7 separate regions of the Homo sapiens genome follow, and regions 2, 3, 4, 5, 6 and 7 are each linked to region 1. The links are contacts of gene promoters, found by promoter capture Hi-C in human tissues and cell types (Jung and others, 2019). All regions are on one chromosome and are shown on one strand. The core of a region is centred on a gene start or on the middle of the fragment in contact, and the rest is flanking DNA. Distances in the headings are between cores, read along the strand shown. Region 1 holds the start of GPC6 (glypican 6). Region 2 overlaps GPC6 (glypican 6). Region 3 overlaps GPC6 (glypican 6). Region 4 overlaps GPC6 (glypican 6). Region 5 overlaps GPC5 (glypican 5). Region 6 overlaps GPC6 (glypican 6). Region 7 overlaps GPC5 (glypican 5).

The links. The method cuts DNA at HindIII sites, captures the fragments that hold promoters and counts their contacts. A contact is called where the count stands out against the background at its distance.
Region 2: a contact is called between a fragment that was not itself captured here and the fragment with the promoter of GPC6 in region 1, in 1 of the 25 tissues and cell types used here (mesenchymal stem cells).
Region 3: a contact is called between a fragment that was not itself captured here and the fragment with the promoter of GPC6 in region 1, in 2 of the 25 tissues and cell types used here (IMR-90 fibroblasts and dorsolateral prefrontal cortex).
Region 4: a contact is called between a fragment that was not itself captured here and the fragment with the promoter of GPC6 in region 1, in 1 of the 25 tissues and cell types used here (liver).
Region 5: a contact is called between a fragment that was not itself captured here and the fragment with the promoter of GPC6 in region 1, in 1 of the 25 tissues and cell types used here (dorsolateral prefrontal cortex).
Region 6: a fragment that was not itself captured here is called in contact with the fragment with the promoter of GPC6 in region 1 in 1 of the 25 tissues and cell types used here (mesenchymal stem cells).
Region 7: a contact is called between a fragment that was not itself captured here and the fragment with the promoter of GPC6 in region 1, in 2 of the 25 tissues and cell types used here (hippocampus and mesenchymal stem cells).

Annotation. Positions count from the first base shown.
Region 1 is chr13:93,225,031-93,228,794 of GRCh38, forward strand. GPC6 (glypican 6) reads left to right here and starts at 1,777. Exons shown (of 9, transcript NM_005708.5): 1 at 1,777-2,586. The coding sequence starts at 2,427. RefSeq lists an enhancer at 2,370-3,212 and a silencer at 3,266-3,560. The HindIII fragment of the contact is 15,285 bases long and covers 1-3,764 here.
Region 2 is chr13:94,113,364-94,117,127 of GRCh38, forward strand. The region is part of intron 4 of GPC6 (glypican 6); the gene reads left to right. Among named protein-coding and RNA genes, the nearest start is that of GPC6-AS1, 73 kb to the right of the region's middle. The HindIII fragment of the contact is 4,299 bases long and covers 1-3,764 here.
Region 3 is chr13:94,039,774-94,043,537 of GRCh38, forward strand. All of the region lies in intron 4 of GPC6 (glypican 6), which reads left to right. Among named protein-coding and RNA genes, the nearest start is that of GPC6-AS1, 150 kb to the right of the region's middle. The HindIII fragment of the contact is 5,247 bases long and covers 1-3,764 here.
Region 4 is chr13:93,951,377-93,955,140 of GRCh38, forward strand. The region is part of intron 3 of GPC6 (glypican 6); the gene reads left to right. Among named protein-coding and RNA genes, the nearest start is that of GPC6-AS2, 95 kb to the left of the region's middle. The HindIII fragment of the contact is 8,481 bases long and covers 1-3,764 here.
Region 5 is chr13:92,563,631-92,567,394 of GRCh38, forward strand. The region is part of intron 7 of GPC5 (glypican 5); the gene reads left to right. Among named protein-coding and RNA genes, the nearest start is that of MIR548AS, 75 kb to the left of the region's middle. The HindIII fragment of the contact is 6,248 bases long and covers 1-3,764 here.
Region 6 is chr13:93,865,662-93,869,425 of GRCh38, forward strand. All of the region lies in intron 3 of GPC6 (glypican 6), which reads left to right. Among named protein-coding and RNA genes, the nearest start is that of GPC6-AS2, 9.1 kb to the left of the region's middle. The HindIII fragment of the contact is 5,943 bases long and covers 1-3,764 here.
Region 7 is chr13:92,586,833-92,590,596 of GRCh38, forward strand. All of the region lies in intron 7 of GPC5 (glypican 5), which reads left to right. Among named protein-coding and RNA genes, the nearest start is that of MIR548AS, 99 kb to the left of the region's middle. The HindIII fragment of the contact is 4,822 bases long and covers 1-3,764 here.

The DNA.
Region 1 (3,764 bases), core at 527-3,026:
TGATCTTCAAATAATTTAAAACCACATATACTATGCTTTTACCCATTCTTCCTTTACCTCCATTTAAAATAATGAATTATCTGCTATACTGAGTCAGGGTAAATTACAATGAGTCCCAGGATAAGGTGGTAGGACAGGAAGTGTGTGTTTTTACCCTCTTCCTCTGGAGTGCATAATGCTTTACTATGATACAAAGAGAAGTTTGAAGGAAGTCACGTTGTCAAATATGACAGAAGTAATAACTTGACTGCAATTCCTGAGCCTATCAACCTCACCGTTTGTCCACAAACATAACCAGAATATATTTTATCTTGATTTCCGACTTGAGGGAAAATAAGTTCAGTGATTTAAGATCTGCCAGTTAGCATAAATATTGTGAAAGCAAAAAACTGTGCTAAAATTTTAAGAGAAAAAAAGTTAAGTGTGTTGCGTTTTCAGAAAGATTTAGCTATGGAGTTTTTTTTTTTGTTTTGTTTTGTTTTTTTTTTTTTTGGTTTTGTTTTGTCTTGACCTATGAGTTTGAAGAAGACAAAGTGGCTCTGTAAATAAGTCGACTTCATTTTTAAAGCGTTTGGAAAGGTTAAATGAGGTTGAATCTTGAGAGTCTTTTTGGTGGTTAGGAGAGGGGGAATTTATTAAAGAGAGGAAGACAATGTACCTAATATGTTGTGATGATAATGACAAACTCAAAGATTTAAACTTCATGAGTCATTCTGGTCATTCATATCATCATCAGGAAAACATCTTCATGTGTAGCTTCATAGGTGAGCTCCACAAAACTGTGCATTACCTTGTAGTAGTTTGTGAATAATGTGCTGACCTATGACACATAGCCACGTAAGTGAATAAACACTATTATTATTATTATTTTGTCTTGGTTTTCATTAAACTATCTTAGTAGTTTCAGGAGCTCTGGGTTTCAACACACACTTCTGCCAGCTGACTTTAGTGCGTCCATTAGCATAACAAAGTCAATTAGGCAAACCTGAATTTTCACTTTTATCCCGTTCACAGAACATCAGTGTAAATGGAGACAGGAAGAAGAAATTGGATTGATTCTCCACTTGAGAATTATGTTAACTTGGAAGAAAATGTTAAGTCTACTATGTGAGGGCATCTAGTGAGAGGGAAGGAATCACCTCCCTTCCCCCATTATGTCCCTTTATGCACCTCTGACCCTTGTGCTCTCCTTTTCTTGTTGCTTCTGTGGTCTGGTTGTTAGCTTTCCCGATCCTCCACACATTAGAAACCTAAGCATAATGATTTCTGATCGAAGGCTATGAGATATTTGAAATAAAAAAAGGGGAAATTGTTGAGTCTAGAACCAAACCTTTAAAAATTAAGAACTACCAGTCTGTAATGTGTGCCTTTAGAAAAAAACAAAGTCAAACAGAAATTAGGCAACTAGTTAGAGCCGTGATTGTGCTCTGCCACCCATGAACTCCCGTCTATGACTATTTCCACTCTGGCTTTGTGTTTCAGTAGGTCAGGGACACATATTAAGAGCAACAATTGGAACTGCGTTATCCTTTACCTCCATAAAAATACAGCTTAATAACATGTTAATGACTTAAAATTACCTTGTCTTTCTAGATTGTTTATTGATGTCATTTCAGATCGGTATAAAGGATGTGAAGTGAATAAGAAAATAGGTACGTTTCTTTTTCTTTTTTTCCCCTTTCTACCGACTAGGAAGAGATCCAGTCCAGGTTTTGCCTTTGACTCGGCCTGTGAATTTCGGCTGTGCAATGTGTAGCACGTTTCTTTCTCCCCCCTCCTTTCTCCTTCCCTCTTGCCTCCAGTGACTGTCTCCAGGATTTCTCTCTTCCTATTTCAGGAGGACTCTCACAGGCTCCCACAGCCTGTGTTAAGCTGAGGTTTCCCCTAGATCTCGTATATCCCCAACACATACCTCCACGCACACACATCCCCAAGAACCTCGAGCTCACACCAACAGACACACGCGCGCATACACACTCGCTCTCGCTTGTCCATCTCCCTCCCGGGGGAGCCGGCGCGCGCTCCCACCTTTGCCGCACACTCCGGCGAGCCGAGCCCGCAGCGCTCCAGGATTCTGCGGCTCGGAACTCGGATTGCAGCTCTGAACCCCCATGGTGGTTTTTTAAACACTTCTTTTCCTTCTCTTCCTCGTTTTGATTGCACCGTTTCCATCTGGGGGCTAGAGGAGCAAGGCAGCAGCCTTCCCAGCCAGCCCTTGTTGGCTTGCCATCGTCCATCTGGCTTATAAAAGTTTGCTGAGCGCAGTCCAGAGGGCTGCGCTGCTCGTCCCCTCGGCTGGCAGAAGGGGGTGACGCTGGGCAGCGGCGAGGAGCGCGCCGCTGCCTCTGGCGGGCTTTCGGCTTGAGGGGCAAGGTGAAGAGCGCACCGGCCGTGGGGTTTACCGAGCTGGATTTGTATGTTGCACCATGCCTTCTTGGATCGGGGCTGTGATTCTTCCCCTCTTGGGGCTGCTGCTCTCCCTCCCCGCCGGGGCGGATGTGAAGGCTCGGAGCTGCGGAGAGGTCCGCCAGGCGTACGGTGCCAAGGGATTCAGCCTGGCGGACATCCCCTACCAGGAGATCGCAGGTAAGCGCGGGCGCGCTGCAGGGGCAGGCTGCAGCCCTCGGCTGCCGCACGTCCCACTGGCCGCCCGGCGTCCCCTTCCTTCCCCCTGTTGCTGAGTTGGTGCTCACTTTCTGCCACCGCTATGGGACTCCGCGTCTCCGTGTTGGGCGGCGGATGCTCCTGCGGCTTCTTCGGCGGGGGAAGGTGTGCGTCTCCGCCGCCTCATTGTGTGCACACGCGGGAGCACCCTGGCTCCCGCCTCCCGCTGCTCTCGCGCCCTTCTACCCCTTAGTTGATGGCTCAGGCCCGGCTGGCCAGGGAGCCCGGGTCACTCCGGGGCGGCTGCAAGGCGCAGACGGAGAGCCGAGCCGGGCGCTCACTCCGCGTTCTGGTTCGGGCAAACTTGGAAGAACTGCGACCGCAGTTTGCCCAGCGCCACAGTCTGAGTGGCGCCTTCTCCACTCCCGCCCTTGCGCCGGCAGGGGCGGTGGAGAGACGCGGAGGGCTCCCCCAGCCCCTCTCTCCCCTATCCGTCCTTCGGGCGACAGAGCGCCCGGCGCTCGGGCCGGGGGCGGGCAAGGCTGGGAGGGACCCTCGCCGGGGACCTGGCCTCTGGACGCCGGCGTTTCAAGGCTGGTTTGGGGACTTCACGGGCTGCCTGTTTCAGATGTGGGGCGGGCTTTCCCGTTAGGGTTCCTCAGTGCTTCCCCAGTTGCTGTTGGCCACTCAGGGCCCGGGGACACCCTGCCACCCGGTCTGGAGCCGGCCTCGTCTGCCAGCGAACAGCCAACTTTAGCGGGTGGCTCAGCTGGGGATTCGGGTCCGGGTTCGGGGGCCCCGTGTCCCCCGCATGCCCGGCCACTGGCATTGCTCCACCAAGAGCTTGAGAGCGCCCACCCTTTCTCTCGGCGCCAGTGTGTGTAGCACTTGGTCTCCGACAACTTGCGCGGCAGTCTGGGTGCTTGTTTTCCGGCTCTTAGCTCCAACCGAATCCGAGCTTCTCTGGGGCTCTGTGAATGAAACGTGTCGGGGAGAGATAATCCTTTGGCTGCTAAAGAACAGAACTGAGAGAGGCCGAGGGAGGCCAGGAGATGCTGCGAGGGCGCGGGCTGCTCAAACCGGGCAGCTGAAGTCCTTAGTGACCTCAGATCGTCAAGTCAAAACGCTGAATTTCCACCAGCCTCTGTCTGCTTTTTGCC
Region 2 (3,764 bases), core at 620-3,119, 890 kb after region 1:
AGTTCCTAGCTCATTATTATCATCCATTCCTGCAAGTCTTGTTTCATTTCCTTCTTCTTACCCAGTACTCCTATTTCCCAGCAACCCCCATTCACTCTAATGACTTTGATGAATGTCCTTAAATATGTGTGCACCTTGTACAATATGCAGCATTGTGAAGTTTCCATGTTTTCAAGGATAATAAGCTTTCCAGTGTCAATAACCTTGTTTACTATTACTTGAACAAACTGCAGCTTTAGCTAATGCATAAAATATGTAAATGAAGGAGCCATAGGATGTTAGGGAAAATATTCAAATCCAGCCAACTAGGAAGTGATTTCTTGTTTGTGAGGTATTTAGACCGTGCTAGGTGGCCTTTATTAAACAGTGACTATAGGCCGGGCATAGTATCTCACGCCTGCAATCCCAGCACTTTGGGAGCCTGAGGTGAGAGGATCACTTGAAGACAGGAGTTCTTGACCAGCCTGGCCAACATTGTGAAACCCTGTCTCTACTAAAAAATACAAAAAGTAGCCAGATGTGGTGGCACATGTCTGTAGTCCCAGCTACTTGGAAGGCTGAGGCACGAGAATCACTTGAACCTGGGAGACAGAGGTTGCAGTGAGATCTCGCCACTGCACTCCAGCCTGAGTGACAGAACAAGACTCTGTCTAAAAAAAAAAAAAAAAAAAAGCCCAGTGACTATTACCCATTCACCCATTCATAGAACTAAGGTTTTTACCTTAGCTTTATCAAAAAAAAAAAAAAAAAAAAAAAAAAAAGCAAGATGGTGTTCTTATTCCCATTTTCTAAATTAAAAAAAAAATTCTAAGAAAGGTAAAGTGACCAGCCAAATGGCACACACCTAAATTTTGGTTCTGGGATTAAATCTACATGTGTAGTCTTCTCTCTCAAAAATGGAATGTTTCTTGTCTTTGGAAACTCCAAGGACAAAAAGATGTCTTAAAGAGATTGGGAAAGATTTGCTTGAGGAAGGATCATATGGCCTTGGCTTTGAAGAATAGATCTAATTTGGTCAGACTGGTAGGAGAAAGGCTCATTGTAAGGAAGCAGGCGGGGGTATATTCAACAGGAAACAGTTTTCCTTGGCTGAGCTGCAGAGATGACCATTAGAAAGTGGGAAAGGCAGACTGAACCTAAATCATTAGGCATGATCTATTAGGCTGGGAAGTTTGGTTCTGTCTAAAAAATACAGAATTTTATCTTGTAGGATAGGTTAGGATAGTGGGTGGGGTTGGGAGTAAATTTATTCCTCAGGTGTACGTATAGAAGTTTAAGCTATGACATACAATGACTAACCAGCTATATTACCATTGAAGCTTACATATTCCTATCTGGTTTCAAATTTTACACAACCAAGGTGAAAAAGATAAGACCAAGAACCAAAATAATCAGAAGAGAAAATATTAAAAATGATAGTTACTGAGGTCTTGTTAGAAGCCAAGCTTAATGCTTTCCATGTATTGTCTCAAGTAATCTTCATAATAATTCTAAATGGTAGTACTGTTTTTTTTTCCATTTTGCAGGTTTAGAAAACGAGACATAAAAGTAAGATGGCTGACTCAGAGTCAAAAAGCTAGTTCATGGCCACCGGCCATGAGAATCAGTGTGTGTCTGATTCTCAACCATTAAACTCTATTGTCTCCAATAAGTAAATGGTTAAATGTGTGATAAGAGCCAACTAGTTTAAACTCAAGGCAGTGTTGGGAATATTTTATCTGATTTCAACTGAGAAAATAGAAAGTGTACAAGTGCTCTCCAAGGAAACCAGGCCATAGGTTTATAGAATGAAATCATAACTTTGAAGGATGTACTTCATCCTCTCCAAGTACTTAGGCAGATAGACCTGTACATTTTAATACAGTCATGTGGCTGCAAATGTCCTCCAGGGGGCCATTTAGCTATCTCCTTTTTGCACCTAAAGGTTTTGTAAAGATTTGAAACGCACTGGTAATGAGGTTTATGTCAGAGGCAAGGGGTTGGTGGGGGGGTGTCAAAGCTTTAGTATTATGTAGGTTCAACTGTTACAAGGGAGATGGTCCCAGCTGAATTTTTTAAGCAAGGGGAAATAAATCTCTTCAAACAAAGGGACTGCTTTTTCTTTCATTCAACCTGATTTCTCTGCCTCTGGGCTAGTCTTTCATTTTACGTAGTCACAGAGAACAGACTCATTGACCCTTCCTCAGGTCCCAAACCAGCTAGTCATGACCAGAATTTGGTGATCTGTAATCCAGGTAGAAGAGATGTGAGGATTTTGTTTACGTGTACACTGGTAGCTCATAGAAACCTGTGTATTCTAAAGGAGAAATTCCTGGCCCAGTAACTGGAATTCCTAAGTTCTCAACACAAACCTACGAACATTTCTATGTGGATGCTTGATGAAGGATATTTATACCATTTCTACTTTCTTAAACTGTAAAAATTAGACATTTTAGCTTTATACAGTTTGTGTAGTCCTATTTATAAATCACATTATAGTAAATAAGAATATTTTTTCAGTTTACAAAAATAGCTTAATATTTATAGAAGTCCTACGGTGATTCTTTTCACTCTCTGAATTAGTTAATTTTACGTATCAAGATTTCTTAATGAGGGGCCTGTATTGCCCCATACCTATTTCATAGAAATATTGTAAGGACTCAAGGTTTAGAAACCCCTAATTTTCTGAGATTGATATGAAAATATAGGATAATTATAAATAATAAGTATCAGCATTAAGTGCTTTAGTAATTTAGTTATAATTTAGTAATTTAGTTATAAATTAGACATTTTAACAAATTGTGTTTACTGGGGAGAGAAGACAAATAGTTAACTAAATAGTTCCTGGATGCTGGGAACTTCATGTATCTTAACTCCTTTAATCTATACAGCACCCCCATTTACCATATCAGTGCACATGAATGAAATGCCTACTACATTCTGGAAGTTGCGCTTGATATTGGTGTTACGGTGGTGAACGAGACAGATACAGCCTCCAAACTCAGAAAGCTAAAGAACCAGAGAAAATTAAAAGAAGTCCCAATTGTCATATGTAAAGGTGCACAAAGGGTTGGAAGGGGACAGGGGACCTTACATATTAACATTTCATTCTGAGCCCCTGAACACATTGAGCTTAGAATTCACATGCATAAAAGGTGGGCAGGCTTTTATGGTTAATAAATATGACCATGTATGGCTGTCCAAAGCCCTTGGTTTCTTTCCTGTCATATTATCCTGCCTCCTTACAATAATTGATCATTTCCCAGAAGATAACTTTCCATTTTAAGCATTGAAACAAGTATGCCTTGAATAAGCAAGTGTTCACATTAGCGCTTACGTTTGTATTCTACGATGGAGAATGAACTCATGGTCTTTCCTATTTCCATCTTCCCTGATGATGATTCTGTGGCTACAGTTGCCTAGACACTGCCTTCAAGGATATTTGAGTGAAGATGACAGCAATTAAAAGGAGTAATGGTTTTCAAAAGCAGTTGTTCTAACAAGCTGCTGCCCAGGTTAGGTGAGCATGTTAACATCAACTTCTTTGTCAACCTTCAAGGCACTGTCATAATGAGTTGATCTCTTATTATTATTATTATTTTAATGAAAATGAGACATAACAGAGTTTGGGGTTCTTTTCCCCCCCAAATACAGTACTATGTTTCTGAAGCCCATGAGATTACTTGAGCATTGGAGTATTTCAATTACCCTTGCAGTGCACTAAGGAGCAGCGACGTTAATATCTTGTTAATTCCATAACAATCATTGTTCCTTACTTGGTATCC
Region 3 (3,764 bases), core at 675-3,174, 810 kb after region 1:
GGCTCCATACAGATGGCCTGCATTTTTCTTCCCTGTGAAATCATACTGCCTTTACCCCTAAATATTAAACATTCAACAGCCTGCTAATCACTGTGTACTCTCAGAATGAGCCTTTGTCTATATGCTCCAACCTCTTTAATTAAATGCAGCTAGAATGTTAACAGTGCAAATATGAGAATGCTTAACATAATGATTTAACGGCCATGCCTCAATCGCTCTCCAAAATATGTTTTTAGACTCAGAAACCCTTTAATAATTATATTTATCATACATATTGACATTTCATAATTGCAGTCAGTTCAAGAGGAAATTGATTTTCTATTGGTTATGACTTTTTGCAATTCTCATTGCACGAAATCTAGAATTACGTTCTTCTGGCCATTACCAAGTTCTAGATTTTAAGCTGAAGCATGAAAGTTGTTAATTTTACAAAAACCTTCCCCAAAAGGCATTCATTTCCTTCACTGGCAAGAATATCACAAAGCAGCCCCTTGCTTCATTGCATGTCCTGTGGCATGATTGTCACCAACGAAAACACAATATGTAAGGACCAAGGTAATTATTCATTGGTTTCTGGACATTAAGTCCCCCAAGGAACAACACAAATATACATGATGCAGCTTCTGCAATGAAACATTCGAGATACCAGTGACGTTTTTTGAATCCCAAATTGCCAAGTTACTGATTTAAGAATGCCCTAGAGTATAAATAATTTCCCCAAGCCTCCCTAGTGACTTGTGTCGAATGCCTTCTGCTTAGCCCATTAAAGGTGAAAGCCATGAAATATTATTTGATTTGTAACACAAGAAAATGCCCTAAAACCACCTATCCCTCTTTGGAAAGCTGCCAGAACAAAGTGAGAGGAAAGGTCAAGCCTGAGAACGATGATTTCAGGTTGCAGCATGTGGCCAGATGAAAGGCTGAGCCTATAGGCTGCATTCAGTCTTCCAGTTTCTTCATAGAGGATTTATATTTATTTTTCCTAACTCACATAGGAGTCTTGGGTTTTGAGATCAAAATTTCAAATACTTTAATAGTGGCCATGCAATATTAAAAAAATTTAACAATGAATTGTGTTGAATGGTTACTACGTGTCCTTACTACATTTCCTTTGAATTCGATTTGGAGAAGCTAGTTTCAGGATTCATTTGATTTACATGTGGAATTGATAGATATTAAAATCCATTTCTTCTAAGTGCCTCACAATTGAAAAACATTATTTTAATTCTGTTGTGCCATGCATTGATTCCTATCCATTTTGATCTGTGATCACTAGACATCAGATTGCTTGTGAATTGCCAGTGAAGGTATGAACATCACAAACCTGCTAAATCAACCTTTAAAATGTAAGAAAAGTTTAATTTAGAGTTACATCCGGACATTTATAAGATGCAGACATTGATAGCTTGGAAGCAAAATGATAAAGTATATGCCTCATTCTGCAAATCAGTTACAAGATGGAAGTCAAATTATTCCATCTGAAACCTCTTAATTCAGCAGAGGAATAGCCACTTGAGAGCTATGATGGCAGTTTATGGAAGTGTCTGTGATCCTTCTTGATAAATCTGTATCCATTTACACAGAGAAGTCATAGTAATCTGTACTAATTGAGAGAGCAAGGATACAAACATCAAATTATTGCCTTCTAGAAGGCATTAGGGGACTTATTTTTAAATTTAAGCTTGACTTTTTATTGGCTACCTATTATCTGCCAGGTAATACCACGTGTGATCTTTTTATGCTTCCAGAAATAAGAATGAGCTTTAATTAGTATGTCATTTTTGCTTAAAGCATTTCTCTGTTTAATTTAGAAATCTTAACATTCTCCTGAACATACACAATCTTTTCTGGACGATCACTTAAAATGAAACTTTTAGCCAAGCCTTTATCTGAATGAATAAAATTTCAAATTAGAAGATTCTTACTTACCAGGGGTTTAGTATATATGCATTAAACTTGACATATAAGCTTTATATCCCAGGGACTTTGGTAAAGAAGTAGCTTTACCAATTGTTATTCTTTATTCTCGATCTTCCTAAAGTCAAATTATTTTTTAGCATTTGTTTCAAAATGATTTTCAACTTACAAAAAAGTTGCAAAAGTAGTACAAAATTTACATATACCTATCACTCACCTTATTCTAATGTTAACAACATACATACGTAACCATATGATATGGTTTGGATTTGTGTCCCCACCCAAATCTCATGTTCAATTATAATCCCCAGTGTTGAAGGTGGGGCCTGGTTGGAGATGATTGGATCATGTTGACAGTTTCTCATGAATGGTTTAACACCATCACCGTTGCTACTGTCGTCATGATAGTGAGTGAATGAGTGAGTGAGTTATCCTGAGATTTGGTTGTTTAAAAGTATGTGGCACCTCCCCCTTCCCTCTCTTCCTCCTACTCTAGCCATGTAAAATATGCCTGCTTTCCCTTTGCCTTCCACCATGATTGTAAGTTTCCTGAGGCCTCCCCAGAAGCAGAAGCCACCATACTTCCTGTACACCCTGCAGAACTGTGAGCCGATTAAACCTCATTTCTTTATGAATTATGGTATTTCTTTATAGCAATGTAAGAACTTCCTAATACACCATACTACAACAATAAGACCAAGAAATTGATATAATACTATTAACTAAATTACATACCTCATTTTAATATCACTAGTTTATCCCCTATCTTTTTCATGTGTCAGAATCCAATCCAGGATTCCATGTGCCTGTAGATGTCATGTCTCCTTAGTCTTCTCCAATCTGTGACACTTTCTCCACTTTCCTTATCTCTTATGACCTTGACACTATTGATAAACACTGATCAGTTACTTTTGTAGAATATTTCTCGATTTGGGTTCTTCTGATATTTTCTAGTGTCTGCTGGTATTTTTCACTGTAGAGTTACTGTATTTTATCCCATTATTGGTGATATGTTTTTTAGGGAAAGTATTTGAAGTCTATGCTAATATCCTGTTTCTCCTCAACCTTTCACCTCTGATATTAGCATCCATCAAAGGATTTTGCCTGTAGCAGCTATTACTGTAGTATTTGCATACTGGTGATTTTATATTTCCTTTTTTCCCTCTTTATATATTAATTGGAATTCTTCCCCCGAAAAAGTGGATCTTTTTTCTCTCCCAACTTCTTATCTGTTTAGTTATGTATTTATATCGGTATGAGCTCATGGTCATTCGTTATATTCTATGGGTATAATCCAATAATGTCATTATTTATTTTGTTGCTCAAATTGTTCCAGGTTTGTACATTGGGAGCTCCTTACTTTTGGGTCCTATATCCTTCTGACATGGTCCCCATCATTTTTGAAGCAATTTCTCATTTTTACCATTACAAGATATACCAGGATCATTTTGTATTTTTCCTGCATCAGTCCTAAAACCTACCTGTTCTCCGGGGAGCACTAGTTCCTTTATTGGAGAATGGTATTAGAAACCAAGGTCTGGGCACTAGACGTGCTCGATGCTACTGGAGGGTCATTGCTATGAAGCCCTGTCTCCAAAATACACTAGGAAATATGTGTATGTATACTACTTCATACATACTGACAATTTATATTTATTATTTATTTATCAAATTTATGACTAACATTGATTTTGAAGATTTTCAACTTACAAAAAAGTTTCAAAAATAGTACCAAATTTACACATACCTATCATTCACCTGATCCTAATGTTAACAACATACATACATAATCATACTACAATAATAAAACCAGGAAATTAACATTGCTATAATACTATTAACTAAAC
Region 4 (3,764 bases), core at 517-3,016, 730 kb after region 1:
TCAATTTTGCCATCTTCCTCATCCTATGCCAGTCATTTTTTGTTTCATTTCTCCAGTAAGTCTTTTGTTCTTGAATGAATGAATAAATGATGAATGAATGAATGAATGAATGCTTAAACAAACAAAAAATATCCAGACCTATACATTTTATTTATTTTTCTGTTTCTATTTTGCTGATAACCAGTAATGGCTTTGGAGTCAGAGAAGGGTTCAGTTTTAATTTCTATCACCTTAGAAGCAGTTTCACCTTGGATAAATTACCCAACCCCTCTCAGCCTCAGTTTCTTCATCCGTATAGTAATGGTTATAATAATTATGACAAAAAGAAGGAAGTCAGGTGATTAACGTTAGGTAATAATCTCTCTAATAGGAACTGATAGCAGCAGCAAAAATAGACATAAGCAAAATCTTGAATTTTTTTTATAAGAGAACTTTCACCAGAGAAATAACATCCAGGAAGATTCCTGGAGATCATTAGAAGCAAAGGATGAAACAGTGGACATGTTTCATAGGCATTCTTCAACCTAAAATAAATGGGTTGTGTTTTAAAGGTTTGTTTCTGAGCCGATTGCCTTAGAGCTCAGAAATACATTCTTTCATACAAACAACATGCTAGTTGATGGCTCTGTTCTTAGCACAGCCTACAAAGTGTAGGTACCTTAGAATATGCACTAAATAAAGAATTAATAGTACCATTTCAGTTATCATACCAACATTTTTCTATAGGGCAGTGTGTTCTGTGTTCATAATTTAAACTTCTAGGAACACAGGAAACATCTGGAGGAAGGAAGTTAGAGAAGAAAATTTGGCAATCAAACAGATCCAGAAGATAGAACTTATTGAAATCAGGTAACAAAATGAAAATTAAATCTAAAACTAGGCTTTTATACCCATTTTCAAGATGATAATCAAAATTAACCAAAAATCTCAAAAATGAATCTTTAGGGAACATATTACGTGGGAAAGAACTGTATGAATATTACTGTTAAATAGAACTAAATTAAAATCCTGAGTTGATATGTAGAATTCCAGAATTGTGAAAAATGTATATAACTTCTTGAGTTTTAATTTCCTTATATGAACATGGAACAATAATACTGGAAATAGTTGCCAAGAAGAATTATAATGCCCTAGGTTATTAGGAATGTCTTTCTTGTATCATTTATCTTTTATTTTTGAACTCCAGCATTAGCTTGCATTCAAACACTTATATGTGATGTATACATTTATGTATATATGTATGTATGTGTCTGTATATATGTATGTGTCTGTATATATGTATGTATATGTATGTGTGTATAAATAGTATATATAGTATGTGTGTGAGAGTATATATATTCACCTGTATGTGTGTATATGTGTGTGTGTATGTGCGTGTGACGTGTGTGTGTGAGATGTGGGTGTGTATATATGTGTATTGAGATATAGGTATACACACACACACATATATATACGTATATATCACACATATATATACGTATATATATGTATATATATACATATATATATGTGTGATATATACGTGTATATATGTATATATATACACGTATATATATAGTCCTTGAAACCGTTTGGCTCAAAACACCTCTATTATTTAGTTTTTTTCTTTCTACAGAATTCTCAAACTTTCCATATATTTTTCTTAAGCTGCTTCTTGCTCCCCTTCTCATCTTGCCCATGCTTAGATGCTGTCAGATCATTCATTTTGCTACAGTTTCCATTCATTTTGTTGCCTTCACTCTGTCTGTGCCACCTTCCCTCGTGGTTTTTGATTCTCAGAACTTTTGCTGAGGTGTCTTCACTTTTCTTTTCTTCCATGGTCTCCCTAAAACCCATCTACCACTGTGATTGTTTTTCTACTTCTATTGAACATTCTCACTTTAAGGTTTTATGGAGCATTTAAACTCCTTCTTTGTATGTTCCCCTTTTGACTCTTCATATTGTCATCTTTATCATCCTGAATGGTTGCCTCCTACTTTCCCCTTCAGACTGGGGTTTTCAGTCCATCTTTGGTGGAATATTTGGTCTCCACTTATTTCATTTTTATTCATTATTGTCCTGGTTCTTTGTGTAGAATTGCCTCTCCATAAATAAGCCCTGTTTCTCCTTTTGTAGAACAGTTTATTTTTCTGTATTTGTTTCTCCACATCTTGTTCATTCTAGCAACTTTCTTTTTACTCATTTGACTTTTCTTCCAACATTTGAAATCAAACATCAATTTATTTTATAAGTATTTCTTTTGAATTGTCATGCAACATTCTAAACTCAAATCATAAAGTCAGAGAATTTTAGAGGTAGATAGAACCATAAGTATCACCTTGGCCAGACCGTATGTATTACCAAAAAGGAAAGTAACTGGAAAACATCTTCTCAATGCCCAGCTCTTAAGTGTTATCTTCCCCTTGCACTCCAGTGAAACTTTAGGTTGAGTCATATTCTGTATTGATTATCAGTTCCACCTGTATAATATTGTTTTTCTTCTATTCAAAAATGGACTGATATAGCATATATGGTTATCTTTAATTGCAGTAAATTACACATCACATAAAATTCACTGTTTTAAAGTGTACAATTCACTGACATCTGGTGCCTTTATCATGTTGAGCAACCATCACTATTGTCTAATTCCAGAACATTTTTATCATCCCAAAAGAAAGCTCTTTGCCCAAGAAGTCACTCCCTAGTCCTCCCTCACCCCTACCTCCTGGAAACCGCCATTCTGCTTTCTGTCTCTAAGCATGACCTATTCTAGATCTTTCTTCTAAATGGAATCATGTAATATGTGGCCTATTTTATCTGGCTTCTTTCAACACATATAGTTTTATAATCTGCTATTTACAACTTGCTATGTATGGTTATATAATCTGAAAACATAGCAAAAGTGTATATATATTATAAAAGTTTTGAAAAATATTCTTCTGCATACACAGTGCCTTTATTTTTATTTATTTTTATTTTTGACAAGGTCTCATCTGTTATGCAGGCTGGAGTGTAGTGGCACAATCTTAGCTCCATGCAACCTCTGTCTTCCAGGCTCAAGCGATCCTCCTGACTCAGCCTCTTGAGTAGCTGAGAGTAAATTAGTGTGCACCACCACAACTAGCTATTTTTTGTAGAGACAGGTTTCACCATGTGGCCCAGGCTCACAATGCCTTTTTATATTCCCAAGTTTTACATGCTTTGTTTTTACCCATGCTAGTACTGTGACCTTTTTCCTACAACTCAAACAACTTTCCTGATGTTGAGTTTAATTCATAGAGCACACAGAGAAGCATGTCCCAGTTGTCCTGTGGAACACTTGCATGCCTGTCACAGACCTGCCTGGGAAGCTCCCAGCAGACACTCAGTCCCACTTGACAAAGATTCTTCATTCATTCTGGTTTTTGTCCTGCAGTCTCTAAGTAAATATAAGATGTAGACTGATATGAAGCTCTCCAAAACTCCTCACTTACCCCAGGTTTAGTAACTCTATGTATGTCCACAACCAAAGGCCATCTCCTTTAATATCCACCACCTTCTAGCATAGTGGGAACAAAGAGACTTGTCACACTTATGTTCTTGAGTTGTCCCCATAACAACCACTTTATTTCTCCATCTTGGTTGCCTCTTCCCTCCACCAGTGACATCTGCCCACTTTTGCAGACCTCTGCCTTAAAGTCCTGCACCACTGTCCTCTTTAACAGTGGAGAAAGGCCCCTTCTGTGCCATTGACCAAGGGATGAATGGTGGCAGGTCACACTTCTTTTTATCCCTGCCCTTCCTTT
Region 5 (3,764 bases), core at 741-3,240, 660 kb before region 1:
AAGATAGAAGATGTATTCTGGATTCCATTTTAGTGAGTGAAAAACTTACTATTCAATCTGAAGTGGTAAATAGGATTAAGTTCTTTTATTATGATAATGTTATATTTATCACTGTGTTTAATTGATTCTGGTGATATGGGATAGATAAGTTTTTCTCTGACATCACCATTTCATTTCAGAGTTAATTAATCTGGTGTTATTACAGTCTTGCTACATCCTAAACACTTTCATTCATTTATGCAACATATCACTTGTGGATCTAGAAATTTACCTCCAAAGAGAACAGTTTGGGGTGATCTTCATCATCATCCATTAATTACTCATCAACGTTTCATTATTTCCAACTACTATGCACTTAATTTTTTTTTAGAAAAAGAGGAATTATGATACATCCCAGTTAAAGAGAAAAGTCTCAGATTTTTACTGTGCTATTGCCAAGTATATAGAGAGAAATAATTCAAGAATAAAACATTATTTTTTATTTTAAAAATAAAAGTGGTTGTCAGATAAAATATGCTTTAAACCTATGAGTAGACACATGCCTTCCAGTGCTAGTTGTTCAAATTGTCACTTAGTAAGTAATAATTTCCATTTCTGCAGGTAAATGGGACCCAAAGCACCCTATTCTTCCCTGTGTCAATAGGTTTTGCATGGATCCATCTGTGAAACAAGAGATTCTAAGTAATCAGTGTCCTAGATAATGAAATTATACAATTGGAGTTTTTCTATTGCTTTATTCACTAACCTAATGAAGATTGAGGTATTAAAGAGAGTTGTCCATGTGTTTTGTGTTGATGTTTTAATGCAATATAGCTAGCCCCATTGTTATTATTTTTGTGTCTATTTTTCCTGCTTCATTTTATTTTTTGGTGTTTAATTAATTATTTTATAATTTCATTTTTTATTTTAAATTCAGGGGATACATATACAGGTTTTTTACGTGGGTATATTGTAGGACATTGAAGTTTGGGATACAAATGTTACCGTCACCCAGGTAGTGAGCAGAGTACCCAATGGGTAGTTTTTCAGTCCTTTTTCCCCTTCTTCTCTCCTCCCTCTAGCAGACCCCACTGTCTATTGTTCCCATCTTTATGGTCATGTGTACTTAAGGCTTAGCTCACATCGGCAGGTAAGAACATGTGGAATTTGTTTTTCTGTTCCTGCATTAATTTGCTTAGGATAATGGCCTCCAGCTAACACCATTATTTTGAGGCTAATTTACTTCAGATCGAGTTGGTTTAAATCCAAATAAAAGATGTTATTCTTTCTTTATCCTAATCAGAAAATTTTAGGAAATAATCAGATAAACTTTACAATTGGCAAATCAAAGGCAGAACTGCATTAAACACCCAGATGTAAAAGGTGTGACACCTCTTCTACTCTTCTTGTATTCACTTTTAGGCAAGAAAACAGGACTCTTCTGGAAGGTAAAAATGCACTCATTTCCCTTTTAAGACTCATAAGCCATTCTGGAGTCCACTAATACCTAAAGTATTTGTCAATTAAGCATAATTTTGTCTGAAATAGCAAGCTTTAAAGAATACGTAAATATTTTAAAGGAAAATAGATTTTGAAGAAATCAACACATTTTTACATAAGTTTTCCAAAATGGGTTATATATTATTCCACTGAAGGAAAAAGAAACGAACATTTATTGAGTGATTATACTGCTCCAGGCACTTTCACCTTGGTTTTTTTATTTCTTTTCTTAAAGATTAGTTTTATAAGTTCTATCTTTTTAAATAAAGGAACTGAATCTAAGTGATTAAGATCTCCGTCCAGAGTCATGCAAATAAAAACCTGCCAACCTCACTTCAAGGCCATAGTTCCTCCCCTTGGATGACGTTGTCTCACATATAGCTTTTTTTCACTGCTACAAAGTGTTGTGAGCAAGGGTTCTTAGTGCTTTGCAGTTACAATTAAAATTAAAATAAAGAGTTAATAACTTTCAGTAAAGTTGCCCTATCTCTCAAACTAAGACCACAAGTTTTTTCCACTAAGGAAGAAACTTGGTTAGAGCACAGAGTTGTAAAATAATCATAAAAATATGTATCTACATTTTATTTCAATTAAATATGTAGAAATTTACATTCATTTGCCACACTTACAACTAAAGCAAGTGACTTTTTGTTTTTTAGAAGGGGCCTATTGATTGAAGTTTCACCTTATTTTTTGTTTTATATAAAGATGATACATTTTTCTTTCAAGTTTTTTTAAAAAGATTTTTTAAAGCAAAATGAGTCCACATTTTTACCCTTCTATTTAGAATGTGTCTCTCCTTCCTAATTTGACGTGAACTTTTTAGTGATCAACCTTTAGTAGATATTACAATGTATTCAGTATTGTTTATGAAGTCAAATTTATTTTTGTCAACAGTCATTTTAATAATTATATAATTACAGTATAAAATACAAACTGGTGAGGAAATAACTATAACTCAACTAATGGGATCAGAGGTCTTCTTGACTTTAGAACATATTATCATTTAATCTTGATAATCTGTTAGAGGCCATGGAAAGGTGCATGTCTCAGACCCCTAAAGGTCCTATACACTATTGAAATACTGATTTTCCAGGTAGAATTTAATAACAGTTCAGCAGGAAGATGATCCTATGCTCAGAAATTGTTGAATAGCTATCAATTTAGAAATCAGCACCTGTCATCTTCTCATGAGTAAAAATCAAAATGTTTGGAGATATACAGAACTTGATTTAAGAGAATATTGTTTCCAATATTTCAAATTACATTTTAATATCTTTAAAGCTAAATGAATCACATGAAGACAAGGAGATTGAATAGAAGAATATGGAAAATAAGCTGATGCAGTCAATTCATTACATCACAGCCCACAGGCTTTCAGGGCCCCAAGGGAGTTGAAAGTTTCAAAAGTATTGATCGTGGCCCTTGAAGAGGCTAATGGATTTTAAGTCAGTCCAGCCATTAGCAAATAAATGCAGTTGTCCTCAAACACATTTTAGCTTTTTCTTGATTTTCATGATAATCTGGCTCTAGTGTTATGGTTTGGTCTTCTGCAGTAACAGGGTAAATAACAAATCCATCAATGCTCCAGTGTGTTCTATGTCCTCACCCAGAATGTAAGAATTTATTCTTCAGTTGTATTGATGCATTTTGATCCCACCTTCCAATTCCCAATCAGAGAGGCCAAACTACAAGAGCTAAATAGCATAATGCCAAAAAATGTAAATAATAATATTAAAGAGATTACCAAATTTGTCAAACTTATTCTATTTAATTCTGAATTTAGGTTTTTTGCTTTTTTGCTATTATTGACCTAGAGGATGATTATAATAAATATTTGATGACACATTGAAATTCTTCATGATTGACCTTTAAGGTCTGGTATATTAGCAAAACTTTCAGGGAGTCTTTGATGCCATCTACAAAGACAGCTGGCATAGAAGTTGATAAAGACTTGATACTTGGCTGCTTCTTGTTTGAAAGGATGAGGAAGTCTTTACCCACATCAGGTATTCACACAAAATGGACAGTTATTTCCTTAAAGGCCATGTTCCCAGTGCTAAAAATTTCCCGAGGCCAAAATTTCCCAAAGATTTGATGATACATAAAATACTTTTGGCATTGTCTGCTTCAACTTGTGCACAGAAAACCCATCATCTTTACCCTGTTCTTCAGCATTTGTAGGCAAAGGGGAATTTATCACTTTTATCACATAATTGATACTGTAATGACCCAGTTCGACACAAAATTTCACAGGCTGATAATATGATTGCTGGCTGTGGTGA
Region 6 (3,764 bases), core at 635-3,134, 640 kb after region 1:
AGGCACATGATAATAAAGATATTGATTCTCATGCCCTGCAACTTTCTTTTTAACTAATTCAACATGTTTTCATTGCCTATGGGAAAGAGAGCTAATTCAAAGGCAGGAGTCCATTAATTTTAGAAATTTAAGGCAAAAGAAGAACTGATGGATAATTTTGGAAAATTGTCCTGTCCTCTGCTTACTGTTACCATAATACCTTCAACTCCTGGTGACTGGATTGAGATATTATTTTAGGTCAATTTAGATGGGTGGGATTCTCTGAGGTCACATGATTTGAATCAAACCAAAAGTCATAGACCAAAATTGGTTAAGTGCCATGCAGAAATAGAGGGCATGAGTCAAAGCTTAAGGGTACCGATGAGCAGAGGCGGAGTCCTTGAAGCCAGAATCAATGGCCTGATGTGTCCAAAACCAAAGAGTGGTGGACTCTGCAAGTTTTGAAAAGCAGGTAAGTGGTGGGATGATTCACTGTAGCATTCTTCTGAAAAGCAAGTGCCTATATGCCTTTTTGAAAGTAATGTTATTTACAGCCAACAACTAGAGACAACCCAACTATCCCTCAGTAGGAGACTGTGTAAACAATTGTAGTGTAGCCATACAAAGGAATACTACTGAACAGGAAAAAGGAACACAAAACCGATTCATGAATTGACATGGATGAATCTCAGAGATATACAGAGCTGTAGGGTCCAGAAACATGTATCTTTATAATAGAATGTTTTATATTCCTTTTAGTATATACCCAGTAATGGGCGTATGTTCACCACAACGCCGTTCGCAATAGCAAAGACATGGAATCAACCTAAATTCCCATCAGTGATAGACTGAAAAAAGAAAACATGGTACATATATACCATGGAATACTGTGCAGCCATAAAAAAGAACAAGATCATTTCATTTGCAGGGACATGGATGGAGCTGGAGGCCATTGTCTTTAGCAAACTAACACAGGAACAGAAAACCAAATAGTGCATGTTCTCACTTATAAGTGGAAGCTAAATGATGAGAACACATGGACACACAGAAGGGAACAACACACAATGGGGACTTTTGGAGTGTGAAGAGTGGGAGTAGGGAGAAAATCAGGAAAAATAATTAATGGGTACCAGGCTAAATACCTGGGTGATGCAATAATCTGTATCACAAACCCCCATTACGTATGTTTACTATGTAACAAACCTGCACATGTACCCCTGAACCTAAAAGTTTTTCTAAAAATTGTTAGTCAAAAAATAAACATTTCTAAAAATATATAATGTAAATAATTTTTAGCAAAAATTAAAGTTCAGAAACAAAGGAACATCTTCTGTCTTATTCCTTTACTTGAAATGCAAAACCAAAGTTTAGCCTAGCAGAAAACACCTCAGTGCTTGTCCAGGGTTAGTGGTTGGGGTAGGAGATGACTGAAATGTATATCTCAGTATGTTGATTTTTTTTTAAGTGAGGCTATTTCCAAAAATTTCATTTACATGGAATAGTTCCAGGATATCCCCAATTCATGAAACAAGGTTGCTTATATTATGGTGAAATGTCTTTGGACAACAGTGTTATGTGTTACAGTTTGTTCTAGAAAACTCTTTGTAGAAAACTTGGAACATTTTACAGTTGGTTTAATAAACTCTGTTTGTTCCTTTGACGTCTCTCTAACATTGAGGTAGGGCATGACAGCCTGTGTGTGAACTGAGAAGTCTGCAGACTGGAGTTGGACGTTGGACTTTGCCATTCTTTAGCTATGGGATGTTGGACAAGCTACTGAACATCTTCAAACCTTACTTTCCTTATCTCTAAAATAGGGTTATTAATAAAGCCTTCTGCATAATTCATTGAAAAGAGTAAATTAGAATGATTATAAAGCCCTCAGAACCATGTGTGTCCTGTAATAAGCTCTCAAGAAAGGCTAGTCATTCCATTTGTATAAACTCTTCTCGGAAACCCTTGTCAACATGCCCCAAATGGATGGAATCAACACTCCATCTATTACAGCCTTGACCGCTGACATCACTGGTAACCTATTTGCTTCTCCTGCTCCACTGTGAGCTTTTCAAGATGATTAACTCTGAGTCCTTTTCATCTCTCTATTCCTGGTACCTAGCACCACAACTTTTAGTGTACACTCACCATCAGTGCAGGAACTTCATTCTTGAAGCTTAAATCATCAACATTTCTTTCAGTCTCACGCTTTTCTTCAGAATGAGCTGCAAGAGAATCCATGTCTTGTTGTGGGACCCAGGTCCAAAGCCTGTATGGACCTGAAGAATTACACAAGGGCAGCAGGAGTTACACAGAGACGAGGTAACATATTTTTACATCTCTCCTCTTCACATTAGAAACATGAAAACCAGAGTGAAGTCCCTGAGGTTACTCGGGAGAATGCCTTGGTAAACCTTCCATGGATTTTCTGCAGAGTAGGATCAAGTGAAGAATGTTTCCACACTTGAGGGAGACTTCACACATGCTAAAAGTTTGATGCATAATATTTTTGGGTTAGACCACAATGCTTCTTCCCATGGTGCCCGCTTGTCATATTCATAAACATGGACTTCATTTACTAGCTTTTGTTCTCTGCCAAACCTCATCTCATGCTTTTTCAGTAATGTTAGCTAGGTTGTCTGCACACTTGAATATTTAGGATAAGACCCTCAATCCTAATAGCCTATATTATAAGTGTTAACATTTCTGTCTATATAGTTATATCTCCTTATGCTTCTTTTATTAAGTTAATAATAATTCAATTAATGATTGTAATGATAGATACAGAATAAAATTATAAAATAATAAGTTAATAATTTTGCTTACAGCATTGCTTAACTTAAGTGTACAATTTCACACAGAAATTTTTGATAGCATGTTCCTCTCCTCACGAGTGATATTTTAACTTTGGATATTTATGGAGAAAAGGAAGGAGTTAACTGGGATACAGGATTTATGTAAAGGTCTCTCTTTCCCTCTCTTTCACTGCCAAAAGGACAAAGAAATCCCTAGGCAAATATCTGGTACTACATAGAAGTATTTGTCTCACCAAGTTGTTGCTGAAGGGCACTTTTCATACTATTAATATTATTTGAGAGACGAGCAGACACACCAAACCAAACATAATCCAAGACAAAGAAAATGGATTGATGTCAGATTTTAACCTGACTGAACCCTCTTTCGAGTATATCTAAGTGATATCTCCTCTGGCCAACAACAACATTAAATGCAAATATTTCTCTCTATTCCCTTTCCCTTTTCCACAACCCACAAATACTGTTGGCTGCAAGTAGGAGGAGAGAAGTTCGGAACTGCTTCTATTCTTTATGTAGTGCTCAATTGAGTAAGGCAGTCTTCCTGCACCATTTTAAAACTTAATTTTTGGTTGGGGTACAAGACCTTTAACAATTCAGCTCCTTTTAATATACCCGTGCTACTAAGTAATGTAGCAAAATACATTGAAAGTGATTAGCCCTTTAATACTGCACACCATCTGCTTCAAGTCCCTTTCTTTTTACAGCCCACGGTTGGAAAATGTTTCACACATCCCTACACATTGCCAGTCGATGGTCTGATTCTCCAGTTTAACTTCAAAAGGGAAAAACAGGTTCAAATCAGTATAGAACATTGATGACCTTTGAGAAAATGATTTCCCTCAGTTGGAGCTTAGATAGAGCACAGAGATGTGGCATGTGTTTGCAGTTCAACTAACCTGTCCAGTTTTGTCAGTAGTGGTAGACTTCTATCTGGCATGGTCCATCTGCCACCCCATGAGGCTGTCATAGCTAAGA
Region 7 (3,764 bases), core at 730-3,229, 640 kb before region 1:
GCAAGGCCAGTACCAACTCCTGGGGCTTACAGAGTTCCCTAGAGCTTTCAGCATTTCTAAACCAGTTCTTGAAGACATCACAGTACACTTGTATATATGTCTTTCTCTCTTGCATACACACACACACACACGCGCACACACACACACGCACACACACTACATACACAGGAACACAGTTTTACTTAATGAGCTATTTTCTTCTTGAACCATCGATCAAAAACATCTCCATCAGCATCTCCTAACTAGTTGAGAGTTAGTAAATACATATGGTTTGAGAAGATAACTGTTATTGTACTCCTAAGTAAAATGTTGACCATCATATCTTGTATTAAAAAAATGGAAGAAAAATTCTATTTTCCCTGTTTTCCTTCAGTAGTATGAATTGGCATTCTATATAAAGAACTAAAATATAAAGAAAGTTAATAACTACTTACATTTGTAAATCTACAAAATTATAAATGATAACACATATTATGTTTTAATTTATCCTTACAAAGCTCTGGAGGTACATGGGAATTAGTATTCTTTCATTTTAATATGCAATGAAAATTCATGGAATTATGTGACTCTCTCAAGGTTTACAAGTAAATGTCATAGCCAGGACTTGAACCTTAATCGTCTGTCTCCAAAGTGAGGATGGTTTTTATTATACCACCCCATTGTCTAACAGGCAATATTTTGTTAAAACAGAATTAAAAAGAAAAAGGGAAAAATCTTATTGTACATTATTTATGGTACTCCTGCAGAAGAATATTTGAGAGAATGGCTATGTAAGGAAAAGAGCATATCGTCTAGTCTCAATAAAAATTTAATGTTTAAAATTATTGAGCCTATGATTTGCTAACAAAAGAAAAATAAAAATATAGATACAGCCTTTCCATCACCATTCCAGCCAGTAATTCTGATCCCTGTAAATGCTCAGCTTCCTGGGCATTCACTCCTGGAGGCAGCCATGCTCTCAAACCCCGTCTCCACCCTCCAGAGTGGTGTTACATATTCTCTGTGGTTAGGTGTAATATGCTGGTTGGAATTACTGGGTATAGATCAGGTTTTTTGGGGTTTTTTTTTTGAAAGGCCTATTCTTTTTTTTGTTACTTTAAGTTCTGGGATACATGTGCTGAACATGCAGGTTTTTTACATAGGTATACATGTGCCATGGTGGTTTGCTGCACCTATCAACCCATCATCTGGGTTTTAAGCCCCACATGCATTAGGTATTTGTCCTAATGCTCTCCCTCCCCTTTCCCTCCAGCCCCCAACAGGCCCTGGTGTGTGATGTTCCCCTCCCTGTGTGCATGTGTTCTCATTGTTCAACTCCCACTTATGAATGAGAACATGCGGTGTTTGGTTTTTTGTTCCTGTGTTAGTTTACTAAGGATGATGGTTTCCAGCTTCATCCATGTCTCTGCAAAGGACATGAACTCATTCTTTTTTATGGCTGCATAGTATTCCATGGTGTAAATGTACCACATTTCCTTTATCCAGTCTATCATTGATGGGATACCCAAAGGATTCTAAATCATTCTACTATAAAGAAAATGCACATGTTTATTGCAGCCTTAACACTGCGTGTGTTGCTCTCTGAAACAGACACTTGAGTCATCTACACTGCTACCCACTGTTTTGTTTCCTTGTTGAGTTTATTTATTGAGCACTTTCCATTTGTGAAGATCTGCTTTAGATAAGCCCTTTTGAATAGCTCTCCCTATCCAGATAGCTATGAGCTTGTTGTTCAGCAGGTTTTCTCATCATATAATAACACTGTTAGTCTCTTTCTAGGCATGTGCCCTGGCCCTGTCCTTTCTATGTGTCTGTTCTAATTCAGCAGTACAAGTCATATGAAATATAGAACTATGTAGTAGGACTCCATAAGACAACTTAGAGAGTATGTTTATTGCACCACTATCTACAATAGCATGTTTTTTATAATTATCTGAAAATTGTCCCGGTCCCTGATAGAGGAGGTATTAGTTCCATACAGTTGGCATCCTGGGTCATACAGCAAATAAAAATACTGCTTTGATCTGTAAAGCAATTTTTGCTTGGATTTCTAATTTTATGTAGAAGTCATTTTATGTAGAAGTCTCATCCTAACCAAGGTGTATAGAAATCTCTCACTAACATTGGGAGAAAATGTGCAAGTAATGAGAGGCTTCAGGTAAAGTTGAGGGGGGTGCTTTCCAGAGTTATGTCTCAAGGGAAGAAAAACATGTGGCAGTTTCTTTGTATCTGTACTAGAGGAACCATTCTTCAACTCAGTGAAGTAAATGTTTCTTGACTTTGGTTACCAAATGCGTTCATGGTAGGTCCTAGTAAATTAGCACTAACGATGTTCTGTTCCCATGAAGCTGTTTGCAGCCTTGAGTAACACTAGAAAGATTTCCATCTACCGGCTGTACCAAAACTTGGAGGAGGACTAGAGAATATTCCTTTTCTCCTGTTCTTTCAAATGAGAAGATTGAGTTGAAACCTTGAGAGTCATGAGTTCAGTGCAGCAAGGAAGCATCATGCATTTACTCATAGTGCTGCGATTTTCTACTGTTGTTTTTCATCCCTGAGGCTAGAGACAATATTCTCTAATTCACAAAGGTCCATTTTATTCCCCAGCTTTATTCCCCAAAATTGGATCCTGCCCCATTATGCCCAACATTTCTGATCAAATCATGATTTCTTTTATTTTAAAATCATAAAAAATGTTTTATTCTTCCTAAACATCATAAAATTGTTAGTGAGCAGAAGAATAATTCATGAGATTTTATGATCATGGCATTGTGTTATTCTCCAACCCAAATAGTTACTTTTCTAAATATTGCTTTGCCAAATTCCATAAACAGTTTCATTGTCACAACAAATAAGGTAATCAGGTCTGTGGTGACCCAATCAAGTTATTTTACTTGTATAAAATTAGTTAAACTAGAGAGAAGTCCACATAGGATTCAGAGTTAGTATTTTGTATGCTAGAGAAATATGACATTCATCATTGTTTCACATGTGTAAAGTATAATCCTACTTACTTAAGTCAATCGAAATGATAATCACTGGTATTACAAAATATACATGTACTAAGAACCAAATTAACTAGTTCACTGCTTGTTGTTCGGGCTGTGTGGCCAAGGTTAAAAGGTTGATGAGTGCCACCCAGGGAAGAGATGAGTGCATAATTAGAGGTTGTTGGGAACAGACAACGTGCACACTAGGCAGTAGTGATGCAGTGTTTATAGCAAGAAGAGAGAGAGAATGCACAAGATCCAGCTCCTTGCAATACTTCAGGCCCCCATGGCCAGGGATCTATTCCCCAGCCAACATGAGGGGATGTCTTAACTGCACATAGCCCACTTCCTGCTGTAGTGAAAGTACCTCAACGCCTTTCCCTGCGGGGAATCTGAAATACAGAAAGCTAGGGGCATGCATGAGGGCCATGGAAGCATGCACTTAAGAACAAAGGAGGACACACCGAGAATGAAACATGGAAAGCTGTTCCTACACAAGGCAACAAGCCCAGAACAGGCTGTGTGAGGACAGTTTATCTATTGAAAAGGGAGTGTTCCACGCCCAAAACCCGTTCCTATGCAGCTAAGCTAGAATTGACAGACTGCGCACAGGAGACCTTTCCCAACATTAACTTTTCTGAACAAAACCTTCAAGGGGATGTCATTACTCTCTTCCTTTGTTTCTTCCCACTGCTTTTCTCATGGTGGTTTAATCTGCTATCAGAGCTGAGTCATGACAGTTGACACTTCACTCAAACATTCCTTCTGAATTCA